Regions from separate parts of the Homo sapiens genome. Here region 2 is linked to region 1. Evidence: promoter capture Hi-C in 16 types of primary human blood cells and fetal thymus (Javierre and others, 2016). All regions are on one chromosome and are shown on one strand. The core of a region is centred on a gene start or on the middle of the fragment in contact, and the rest is flanking DNA. Distances in the headings are between cores, read along the strand shown. Region 1 holds the start of MLNR (motilin receptor). Region 2 has its middle 17 kb from the start of RCBTB1.

What was found. The method cuts DNA at HindIII sites, captures the fragments that hold promoters and counts their contacts. A CHiCAGO score of 5 or more calls a contact.
Region 2: a fragment that was not itself captured here is called in contact with the fragment with the promoter of MLNR in region 1 in 1 of 17 cell types (megakaryocytes); the score reaches 5.0 in megakaryocytes.

The regions. Positions count from the first base shown.
Region 1 is chr13:49,215,587-49,222,199 of GRCh38, reverse strand. MLNR (motilin receptor) reads right to left here and starts at 1,862. Exons shown (of 2, transcript NM_001507.1): 1 at 962-1,862; 2 at 1-160. The coding sequence starts at 1,862. RefSeq lists silencers at 1,830-1,909, 1,980-2,239, 2,176-2,432. The HindIII fragment of the contact is 8,957 bases long and covers 1-3,386 here.
Region 2 is chr13:49,599,405-49,605,625 of GRCh38, reverse strand. No RefSeq gene overlaps it. Among named protein-coding and RNA genes, the nearest start is that of RCBTB1, 17 kb to the right of the region's middle. The HindIII fragment of the contact is 2,105 bases long and covers 1,456-3,560 here.

The sequences.
Region 1 (6,613 bases), core at 613-3,112:
AGGATTGGGTTGATAGATGCGCTCAGATAGAAAAGTTGCAGAGCGACGATGTTAAAGTACTGAGAGAAGTACATCATCCGCGAATCTTCCGTGTTTATGTAAATGATTCTGCCAACGTGGAAGGGCAACCAGCAAATTATAAATGCCAGAACCACCACCACTGCAACATAAGACACAGCACCGGGATTAACAAAAGCATTGGGAAGCAAATAAACCCCCCACCCCGACAAGGAACCATCTGCAATAACAAGTAACAGCAAAATAAATTAGAGAAAACTTCTACCTAGGCAGATCCTCACCCCAGAAAAAATGACCAGGCTGCAGGCTGCATGGATACTTGCTTTAAAACTGCATAGTAGGCTCCCATATGTGTTATCAAGGCTGGACATAAACCAGAAGGAGCAATTTCTCTGAACAAGCCGCCTTGGCAGGCTTCCTTCCACAAACCCACTTCGGAGACAAGTTTTCTGTTCTCTGTTGAAAAGAATTCTACAACAGGTCTGCACAATCTTTACTTTTTGATACGAGCAAGGTTTACTTTAGCCTTCAGCATCACTTAACATTAAATAAAAAATTTTAGCTTAATGAAATCTCCCTCGTCTTCTCAAGAGCACTGTGAGGACTCCTCATCTGTGGCATCTAACAGGTGGTTGGATTAAGAATTACCAACTCTCCTTTCTGGTCTCAGAGGCTCTGGAAAAGCACTGCTGGTTACTGAATCGGATCCGGGGATCCCACCCTCAAAGCGCCCTGGGGTCCCCCAGAGCTCCTGGGGGACAGGACATGGTTTTCTCGGGGGATGGGAAGTACCGGCGGGTGGAGGCTGGAATCGAAATAGGAAAGGGAGCTGGAAGCGGCGCCCAGAGCTGGGCGAGCAGGGGAAGGGGACCCAGCGTTTGCGCGGTCCCCGGCGGGGCGGACTGCAGGCAGGCGTCTTTGGAACCACGGCGGCTCCACTTACGCAGGACGCGGACGGTCTGCCGGTGGCCTCTCTCCCGCCCCGAGGCGGCCGGGCCTCGCAGCGGCCGCCGGCTGCTCCACAGCTCCCGCCCGATGAGCCCGTAGAGGATGCTGAGGCACAGAAAGGGCAGGAAGAAGTAGGCGGTGGTGACCCACAGCATGACACGCAGCGCGCCCAGCTGCGCGGGGCTCGGCCGGCATTCGCGGCTGAACAGCGCCGCGGCCTCCGCGGTCTCGGGCCCCGACGGCGGGGACGGCGGTGGCGCCCGCGAGAGCCAGAGAGGCGGCGACGAGGCGAGAGGCGAGGAGGCGATCCGCGCGGTGCCATTGAGGCCCGGGACTACGGAGATGCCGGGGTCCTGCTCGACGCCCACCAGGAACAAGAAGGGACCGGCAGAGAGCAGCGCCACGGCCCAGAGCACAGCGATGAGCGCGCGGACGCGGCGCCGGGTGACCAAGACGCGGGCGCGGAGCGGGCGGCAGATGGCCAGGTAGCGCTCGACGCTGAGCGCGGTCATGTGCAGCAGCGTGGCGTAGGTGCAGCCCTCGCCCACGTAGAGGGACAGGCGGCAGAGCAGCGGCCCGAACACCCAGGGCCGCGAGCGCCAGAGGCGGTACAGGTCGAACGGCAGCCCGAGCAGGATGAGTAGGTCGGACACGGCCATGCTGCCCAGGTACAAGTTGGTGGTGGTCCGCATGTCCCGGTAGCGCCCGATCAGCATCACGGTCACCACGTTGCCGCTCACCCCGACGACGAACAGGCACAGGCACACAGCGGTCACCGGCACCAGCGCCCCCAGGGGAAAGGGCGAGCAGCGGCGCTCGTCGCAAGGCGGCAGCGCGGGCCACGGCGGCTCCCGCGCCCCCTCGGGGCCGTCGCTGCCGTTCCAGGGGCTGCCCATGGGTGCTCCGCGCGGCCGCCGCGTCCCGGGTCGGGCTGGGAGCCTGGCGCGTGGTCCCTCTCGGTGAGCGCCTCCTTTCCCAGCCCGCACGCTGCGGGCGCGGCAGGTCAGACGGCGGAGCGCTGCGCTGCGCTGCGGGGCGCGAGAAGCGGCTCTGCGGGGTGGGCTCCGAGGCGCTCCCGAGCTAGCTGCGCGCAGTCTCCGCCCACGGCCGCGGCCCGCCCCGGCCCGGCCCTGCTCCGCTCCCGCGCCCTCTCCCGGGCCCATGCAGTTCCAGGGCGCTTCCCTCTCCACTAACTGGAATACCCGGCGCCCTTAGCGCACGAGCCCTACCCGGTCCGGTGAGCGATGTCTGCACCCTAGACAGCTTTGGTTACAGGACTGAGCACTGTACGGGCGCTTTTGTCAGTCTGGTACTCCGGGCACCTTCGAAGGGATCTGGTCTGGTGGCTGGTAGCTGCCGCTTGACGGTGGAGGAGGGCTCATGGTAATCCTCAGGAAGCCATAATGCTAAATAATAGGAGGGGAGTCTAGACCAGAATCTAGAGCCTCTCCTGTCTAATCCTGGCTCTACAACCGAGTAACTTGTGTAATCTTGGGCTAGTCCTGGTCTCGCCCAGCCCAGTTCTCCTCTTCTGTAAATTCGCGAGTGGTGGAGGGAGCTGACCATATAATTGACCAAATAATTTCTTTTTTTTCTTTTTTTCTTTCTTTCTTTCTTTTTTTCTTCTTGAGACAGGGTCTCACTGTCGTCCAGGCTGGAGTTTAAGTGGCGCGATCACAGCTCACTGCAGCCTCGACCTCCCAGGCTCAAGCAGTCCTCCCACCTCAGCCTCCTGAGTAGCTGGGAGCACAGGAGCGCCCAAGCCCCGGCTAAATTTTGTGTTTTTTGTGTAGTCAGGGTTTCGCCATGTTGGCCAGCCTGGTCTCGAACTCCTGACCCCAGGTGGTCCACCCGCCTCGACCTCCCAAAGTGCTGGGATTACAGGCGTGAGCCACCGCGCCCGGCAGTGACCAGATAATTTCAAGGATCCGTGAGCATGTTTACTTATTATAAAGAACAAGACAAATATTTACGTGGACACTAGAGTACTTTCACATGTGATATGTCATTCTTATGTACAACATGTTTTATAAACTTAAAAAACTAGAGGATTTGTCAACACCGGAAAGAACGAAAATTGGGGAAAGGGGCTAAAACGGATGTTCAGTCTGTTCGGTGTGGTCTTAATAACAATAGCTAACACTTACTGAGAATTTAGATGGATCTGGCCCTGTGCTCTCCATTTAATCCTCATGGCCCGGGGCGCTCCTTTCGCCCATGAACAAAGCGGTCTTGCTTGAGATCAAGCAGGCAGTAAGAGGCGGGACTGGGATATGGGCTCTGGTCGGCCTAATCCCAGAGCTTGCAAGCCTGACGTCCTACTCACTGCCCAGCTCCACCCCCTCAGTGGCTTAAATCCTCAACCTCTTCTCTGGAGTCTCGATTCTGGACCTGACACCTGGCTTTGCCTAGGGCAAGCTTCTCCTGCAGTTCTCTCTCACATGCAGACTGTGAGCTTGGAGGAGGGACACCTGTCGCCTCCCTCATCGCTGCTGTTTCCAGCGGTCCTAAAACCGCCCTCCCTAGCGCTTTCCTCCGTGGTCACCCGTAGTCCCTGAGGGACAGGTGCCTGCGCTCTCTTTGAAGCACTGCATCTGCGGCCGTTCACACCCATGCCGAGTCTTGGAATGCCTTGGCCTCTAGTTTGTTGACCTCCTTTCCACCTATGACCTTGCTCTCCACCCGATCTCAGCCGCGCCTGTCGACGGAACTTACACCTCACGGTTGCCTGCCAGCCTTCCTCCACCTCCACTTCAGTCAGCCCTCTTTCTGACCTCCGCCCGCTCTCTTTTTAGCTCTCTTCCCCTAGCACCTCAGTTCCGGTAATCCTTCAACCCACTGCGACCTCCATCGCTGGCTCCTCCTTCCTTTTCCCGGTCCCTTGCCTGCCCCAGGTCTTCACTTTCTTCCTTTACCCAACGTAAATTCCACGGGCAGTCGCCATCACTCCCACACAGACGCCCTCGACTCCCTTGCTCTTTTCTCCATTGTCAGCCTCGTCCATCCACCAAGAGCACCACAACCCTGGTGAAGCCGAATTCCCTGCCTACTCCTTGCCTGCTCTCACATGGCGTTGTTTCACTTGAAAGCACAACCTCTAGCGGGGTGCTTCGTTCCCCCGGCCTTCCCAACTCTCACCTGACCTCATTCACTCTCCCACCACCAGGCTGCTGGTTTATACCCCCTCCTCTCTCCTTAGACCCAACACCCACCACCCCTTCCTTTGGGAGGTTTCCTTGCACCCTGTTTCTCTGAAGATAACTACCACACCCCCACCTCTGCTCGTGCTCCCCTGGGACAGTTGGTGGTACTTGCAGCTGAAGTCAGCTCTGCCCCTTAAGTGCTCCTTTCTCCTCCTCCAGACATCACTGCGTCAATTCTCTTTCTCTCTCTCTTGTCATCAGTTTTTCTCTCCTGGATCATTTTCATGCAAAACTCCTCAAAATAGTTTCTGTACTCACAGTTTCCACTTTTTCTTCCTCCCTGTCTCCTCCCCCTAGGCAGAGAAAATGTAATTTCTTCATTTATAGTTGATTTGATTTTCCCCTGTGCTCTCAACAAGAGAAATGAATGCTCTAGCCTAGGTAAGGCATGATCCAGGCGGATCAGTTAAGCAGCCCCTCTGGGCAGTGTTCCCTTCTCTCAGACATCATGCCTTTCCTCAAGGTGGCCCAGGTGTACGGGGAGAGGGGTCAGTGGCTTAAAGCTAGAGGGAGAGGTCCTTATGAAGCTTCACGCCGGCTCCTGGGGTGTCAGGGGCTGGCATTTGCTAGACTCCAGTTCCATGTTCCCTTCCTGCCTGGTCACCAGTGGCTCTGCTAGCCTTGGGCGCATGGGCCTGTGGCTAGTGAAGAGGTAGCTTCTTTCTTGGACTCAGGTGATGCTATCAGGAGCACTTGACATCTTCCCCATGGCTCTCATGGGCTGCGAATCCCTGAGTCTCTTTGGTTTTTCCCATTTGCTCCTTGGCCTGATGGACTACCCCAGCCTCTGCTGAAGCCTCCCTTATTCCCTTCCCCACCCACCATGGTGGCGCTGAGGCAGGCTCACTGAGTCTGCAGTCAGCATCCTGGCTGTTGTGAATTACTCACCTCCATTCAGGCACTCCCTCTCTATGGTATTTTCTCCATATTGCTTATTATCAACTGACATACTATTTAATTTACCTAGCTATTTGTTTATTATCTATCTCTATCTCCCAACATTATGTGCACCAGAAGGCAGGGCTTTAATCTGCTGTGTTCACTGCTGTTTCCTTAGTGCCTGGCACAAAGTGAGAATTTAATAAATATTTGTTAACTTGGAGAATGAATGAGCTTCTGTAGAACCAGGTACCATTGTTTTCTTTACAATTCCTAGCCGTTAAAACAGTGCTCTGATTGTAGTGGGTGCTCAGTAAGTAGTCACTGATACTTCAGCTTAAGACAGAATACTGATATGGAGAGGTGGAGACCCAGCGGGCTTTTTTGATAACATTGCTATGCTGAGGTTCAAACATAACTTGGCCCTTAGGACATATCTGAGCTCTTATGATGGGTTGGCATTCAATGTTTTAGGAAGGAATGGGACCAGATCTGTTTTCTACTTTGTGTTTCTGTAGACATTCACCAGCTTCCTGACTTCATAGTTAATCTAGCGAGAGGAAGAGGAAGTTCTCAGTAGACCGGGAGCATGGGCGTCTCTCTTCTTTACTCTTTGAGTACCTCTCCACCTGTAACTCATGTGGGGCAAGGGTGGGTCTAGGTTTGGCCCAGCTACGGCCTGCGTCCCCAGAGGCAAGAGGTTGGTGTCATCAATAGGCTCTTGGCCCCGGGCTGGAGGCCTCACTTGTTGGCTTTTGATGAATATAAAGGGATGGTCTGGATGAATATAAAGCTAATGCTTGCTGTGTGCAAGGCACTGTTCCAAGTACTTTCATATCTGAATGCATTTAATCCTCCACAGCAGTCCAAGGCAGCAGGTTCTTTTAGTATCTCTATGTTAGAGATGAGAAGAGCAAAGCACAGAGAAGTGACCCCAGGTCACTGGGACAGCCAGTAAGGGTGGTGCTGTCCACTTCCAGAGTCCATGGGCATAACTACTGTGCTGGGTGGCCTCTTGCTATACAGACCATAGCACCACCAGCTGCAGAGAATGCTAGGTTATGATCTGGATTCTGCTAGGAAAGTGTCTTCCAGTGTCTTTCTCAGAAACCAGATTTTATGGGCAAATTGAAGAATCTGGAAAGTTGTGAGGAGCATTAAAATACCTCCGTAACGGCCGGGCGCGGTGGCTCACGCCTGTAATCCCAGCACTTTGGGAGGCCGAGGCGGGCGGATCACGAGGTCAGGAGATCGAGACCATCCCGGCTAAAACGGTGAAACCCCGTCTCTACTAAAAATACAAAAAATTAGCCAGGCGTAGTGGCGGGCGCCTGTAGTCCCAGCTACTTGGGAGGCTGAGGCAGGAGAATGGCGTGAACCCGGGAGGCGGAGCTTGCAGTGAGCCGAGATCCCGCCACTGCACTCCAGCCTGGGCGACAGAGCGAGACTCCGTCTCAAAAAAAAAAAAAAAAAAAAATACATCCGTAACTTGTACAATAGTTTACTTATGTAAACTTGTAAACACTCCACAGGCTTTACACTCTTTTCCCCACATAAGAGCAAGG
Region 2 (6,221 bases), core at 1,259-3,758, 380 kb before region 1:
CATGGTGGCTCACACCTGTAATCTCAGCACTTTGGGAGACCCAGGTGGGCAGATGGTTTGAGTTTAGGAGTTAGAGACCAGCCTATGCAACATGGTGAAACTCCGTCTTTACAAAAAATAAAAAAATTAGCCAGGCACAGTGGCATGCACTTATAGTCCTAGCTACCAGGGAAGCTGAGATAGGAGGATTGCTGAAGCCTGGGAGGTCAAGGCTGCAATGAGCCATGAGCAAGACCCTGTCTCAAAAAAAAGAAAAAACAAACAAAAAAAAATGCAAAACAAAAAAAACGAGACTTGATTAGTCCACATTATATACATGTAACTAAATTTCACATGTACCCCATAAATTTGTACACGTAAAAAAGATTTCAATTTCCTCATCCATAAAGTGGGATAAGTTACTGCACATATCTTATAGGGTTGTTAGGATTAAATGGGAAAAACGTATGTATGGCAGAGACTGGCCAACTGTTTACTAAACTGTTTCTTTTTCTTCCTGAGCAAACAGTTAAACCACATTTTCCATCTTCACTTAAGTTAGCTGTGGCCATGCAACTGAGTCCTGATCAGTGGAATGTGAAAGTGTTAGCAGCAGTGAATCTGTACAGGTCTGCAGCAGCCTCAATTCTTGCCACCTCAGAAGAAAGAACTTGACTGAGGGGCATAAGGCAGAGGGAGAGACTGAGGCAAGTTTTAGAGCAGGAGTGAAAGTCTTTAAAAAGTTTTAGAGCAGGAATTTTAAAAAAGTACACTTGGAAGAGGGCCAAGCAGGTAACGTGAAAGATTCAAGTGTACAGTTTGACCTTTGACTCGGGGCTTTATACACTGGCATGCTTCCAGTGGGTAACATCTCTTCTCCCAGTTCTTCCTTTGGGGTGGGCTGTCTGCATTCGCACTGGCCTGCCAGCACTTGGGAGGAGCCGCATGTGCAGTGTGTTTACTGAAGCTGTGCACATGCTCACTTGAGGCGTTTTTCCCTTACCAGTTGAGTGTTCTAGAGGAAGGTCATATACTGGTTAAACTCTGCCATTTTGCCTTAGTTTTCATGCTTGAGCCCACTCACCCAACTCCTGAGATCTTACCAGGAAGCTGCTGATCACCAGTTTCGGGTGTTTTCTATTTATTGAGAGCCTGCCTTTCTCTGGCGCTGGCTGCAACCAATTATTATTTTAGAGAGACAGTTAACAACCGCCTGACCATTACCTGATGGTTTCCTGACATTCCTGGTTGTGGTAGGGGGGTGCTTTCCTGCCCTGCTCATGTCTGCCTACTACCTACTGTAACAAAAGGAAGAGAAGCGTGCTATTTCCAGGCTAAGCTCACACGCAGCTCTCCCACGGTGGTCCTCCTTGTTCTTTCCCCTTCTGCAAAGACCCTGGAAGCCACTTGTTGAAGATGGCAGGGCCACAAAATGAAAGGAGCCTTGGTCCGAGAGTCATGGTTTGGAGGAAAGCTTTATGCCTTTAGGAATACTATTAATAGCGTTTCTCTCAGTATTACAAACCAGAAGCCTACAGCCCTGAACTTAAAACACAAGCAATATAATGGTGATCTTGTCTGCAGGATTTTTTTAAGCTAGAGAAAGTCTAGGAAATAAAGTTGTATGTAGAAGCAGTAAAACTGTAAGCTATTCATATATGTAACTCACAGAAAGTCAACATCTTGTATTTATATTTGCTACATTTTTTGAAAATTTAATGGCATATACAAGAAGGGAAATGAGATAAAATACTGAAGTTGGTGTCATATTGAAAACAGTATTTTCAATTATTTCATCCTTGTGTTTACTTCAGTCCATATTATGATTCATTAAATGATTTCTCTCAGTATTTCACATAATGATTACCCCCCCCCCTTTTTTTTTAACTCTACTCCCATGACAGATTAGGATATGTCCTTTTTTTTTTTTTTTTTAAATTAAAGACTGGGTCTGCTACATTGCCCAGGCTGGAGTACAGCAGCTATTCACAGCCACCATGATAGTGCACTACAGCCCGAATTCCTGGACTCAAGTGAAGCCTCAGCCTCCTGAGTAGCTCGGGCTGAAACTGCCTTTGCAAAATTACAACAGTAAAAGAAATCTGACATGGCTGACTCCATCTTGCTTCCAGTCTCACAGGCTGGCTGTCTTCACTCATTCCTGGATGTGGGCCAAGGTAACTTTGGGGCAAATTTAGTTTATAGTTTAAACGATAATAGCCCTCCCCCAAAACTAAACTGCCCTTGTAAACCTAATGGAAGGTCAAGTTAGGAGGATGGGAGGGGCCTGGATTCTATTAAGATACAGGCTTAGCTAAAATATTACCAACCATTATTGTGGAGGCCACAAGATTAGCAACTTCCTCAATTATTCTTGCAGATAACATCACTATTGTAGAACCTAAGACTGGCCTTTTGAGATGTCTTTTCGGGTTTTTGCCTTTTTTTTTTTTTTTTTTTTTTTTTTTTTTTGAAACGGAGTCTCGCTTTGTCGCCCAGGCTGGAGTGCAGTGGCATGATCTCAGCTCACTGCAAGCTCCGCCTCCCGGGTTCACGCCATTCTCCTGTCTCAGCCTCCTGAGTAGCTGGGTCTACAGGTGCACGTCGCCATGCCCGGCTAATTTTTTTTTTTTATTTTCAGTAGAAACGGGGTTTCACCATGTTGGCCAGGATGGTCATGATCTCCTGACCTTGTGATCCACCCACATCGGCCTCCCAAAGTGCTGGGATTACAGGCGTGAGTGACCGCGCCCGGCCTGGGTTTTTGCATTTCTGATGAACAATGGGTCCACCTGGACTCATCAACCAGTCCTGTGGGCCCCACCCAGAAACCAATTCAGCTCAGGACAGCTTTGACTCCCTATGATTTCATCTCTGATCCAACCAATCAGCACTCCCGACTCACTGGCCCTGTACCCACCAAACTGTCTTTGAAAAACCCTAGTCTCTAAATCTTTGAAGAGACTGATTTGAGTAATAATAAAACTCTGGTCTCCTGTCAGCCAGCTCTGTGTGAGTTAAACTCTGTATCATGACTCCCCTGTCTGGATAAATCAGCTCTATCTGGGCAGCAAGGAAAACGAACCCACTGGGCAGTTACAAGACTACAGAAATGTGCCACCACACCCAGCTACCCTTCTTTTTTGAAAATATCTTCTGTCTTGGCTCTAACACCTTTCTCTGTTTTAGTGCTTTATGCTTATGCCAGTCCCCAGTTTTCTCTAACGAAATTCTACCTCTCTTAAAGCTCAAATTTCATGTATTGAGTCAAAGCCTTCCAAGATATGTAAGGGTTATACCAATTGCAGCCTTTTACTATTTGCTGTCTTCTATCCCAGGTTTTATTTCCAGGTGAGTTTATACAGCTTGCGTCTGCCAAATCAGATTTTAAGCTCCTTCATGGGAGGGACTGTCCTGTTTTCTTTGTATTGCTCAGAGAAAAGAGTAAAGTTTTGTGCAAATAGCTGTTGATGACTGACTCATTCATTTAAAAGCCAAGTTTATGAGATTTCTGCAAACATTTTAATGTCTATCTTTCATGGAGTTTTATAAGAATAAAGTGCAATAGCTCTCATAAAGCTTCCTTCACAGATGAAAAATAACTTGTATTTGGGGGACAATGATGGCAGAGGTGGTAGTATTTTATAGCCAGTGGTTTGGGTTAGAGGAGTTTTACAAAAAATAAATTAGTAGGCCGGGTGCGGTGGCTCACACCTGTAATCCCAGCACTTTGGGAGTCCGAGGCGGGCAGTTCACGAGGTCAGGGGATCAAGACCATCCTGGCTAACATGGTGAACCCCCGTCTCTACTAAAAGTACAAAAAATTAGCCGGGCATGGTGGCGGGCACCTGTAGTCCCAGCTATCGGGAGGCTGAGACAGGAGAATGGTGTGAACCCGGGAGGCAGAGCTTGCAGTGAGCCGAGATTATGCCACTGCACTCCAGCCTGGGCGACAGAGCAAGACTCCGTCTCAAAAAAAAAAAAAAAAAATCAGTGCCTTTTCTCATATTGAAATGAGGACTATTTTATATGTACTAACAACTAAACTTGTTTTGCTTTTCTGGGGGAAGGGGTCTTTCATCCTAACTATTCACTTTTTTTCTTTCTTTTTGCATATTTGCTTAACATAGTTACTTTAAAAATATTAAAATTTATAGCTGAGACCCAGTAAGGTGGCTCACATCTGTAGTCCTAGCACTTTGGGAGGCCAAGGCAGAAGGATTGCTTGAGGCCAGCAGTTCAAGACCAGCCTGGTGAACATAGTGAGACCCCGTCATCTCCACACACAAAAAAATAAAAAATTCGTGAAGCATTCCATATTTTTTTCTGAGATAAAAAAAAACTAAAAAGTTATAGCTGAAAAAGTTTAAATTGTATACCTTACATCATAAAGATCTTAGACTGTTTTAACTGTGAATCTTGCCTCTCACCTTTCACTTGATTGCTAGGTACTAGTCTAGTTCCACTCTGTGCTTATCCTCTAAAAATCAGTAATTTCTTTGCTCATCATTAAGCCTCACATACTGATCCTTTCTGCTGGGTTTATTTTTCCTCTTTCTAAACTACATCCTGGCCAGGCGTGGTGGCTCATGCCTATAATCCTAGCACTTTGGGAGGCCGAGGCGGGCAGATCACTTGAGGTCAGGAGTTCAAGACCAGCCTGGCCAACATGGTGAAACCCCGTCCCTACTAAAAATACGAAAAAATTAGCCAGGCACGGTGGTGCATACATAGTCGCAGCTACTCTGGAGGCTGAGGCAGAAGAATTGCTTGAACCCAGGAGGCGGAGGTTGCAGTAAGCCAAGACTGCACCACTGCACTTCAGCCTGGGTGACAGAGCAAGACTCTGTCTCAAAATAAATAAATAAACTACATCTTTCAGGACTTCTTTCAGCAAGGGTCTGTGAGTGGGAAATTCTCTTAGTCTTGGTTTGATAATGTCTTTATTTTATCCTCACTTTTGAATACCAGTTTAACTAGACAGGGAATTCTAAACCGACAGAAATTTTCCCTTTCATTTTGAAGATACTGCATTATCCTCTGTGCATTATCTACTGTTTGAAATAAGAAACCAGCTTTCGGTCTCTTGTTGTTTCTTTATAGATGACGTGACTTTCGGGGCTATCCTGAACATCCGTAGCACCCAGTGCAAAATTACAAATGGGGGATACCATATGTCTAAAAATTTTTAAGTCAGAAATCAAGCGAATAACTTGTTAAATAAAATATGTTCTATCCTCCTTTTTTTTTTTTTTTAAGACACAGTCTCATTCTGTCATCCATCAGGTTGGAGTGCAGTGGCACAATCACAGTTCACTGCAGCCTCAACTTCCCAGGCTCAAGCAATCCTCTTGCCTCAGCCTCCTGAGTAGCTGGGACCACAGGCATGCACCACTACACCTGGCGAATTATATTTTTTATTCTCTTAGAGATGGGGGTCTCGCTATGTAACTCAGGCTGGTCTTAAACTCCTGGGCTCAAATGATCCTCCAGCCTCAGCCTCCCAGAGCATCGGAATTACACGTGTGAGTTACCACACCCAGCCTATCCTCCTATCTTGACAGATACAGCTTTTTAGTGACTTGGATGGCCATACCTTGAATTTAGAAATCCTAGGGGTTCCATATTGGAACTTGGCAGTGTAGGGAGTGATTACTGAAGGGGTGGGTTGCCCCTCCACACCTGCGGGTGTTTCTCGTAAGGTGGAACGAGAGACTTGGAAAAGAAAAAGACACAGAGACAAAGTATAGAGAAAGAAATAAGGGGACCCGGGGGACCAGCGTTCAGCATATGGAGGATCCCGCCAGCCTCTGAGTTCCCTTAGTATTTATTGATCATTCGTGGGTGTTTCTCTAAGAGGGGGACGTGTCAGGGTCACAAGACAATTGTGGGGAGAGGGTCAGCAGACAAACACGTGAACAAAGGTCTTTGCAACATAGACAAGGTAAAGGATTAAGTGCTGTACTTTTAGATATGCATACACATAAACATCTCAATGCTTTACAAAGCAGTATTGCTGCCCGCATGTCCCACCTCCAGCCCTAAGGCGGTTTTTCCCTATCTCAGTAGATAGAACGTACAATCGGGTTTTATACCGAGACATTCCATTGCCCAGGGACGGGCAGGAGACAGATGCCTTCCTCTTGTCTCAACTGCAAGAGGCATGCCTTCCTCTTATACTAATCCTCCTCAGCACAGACCCTTTACGGGTGTCGGGCTGGGGGACGGTCAGGTCTTTCCCT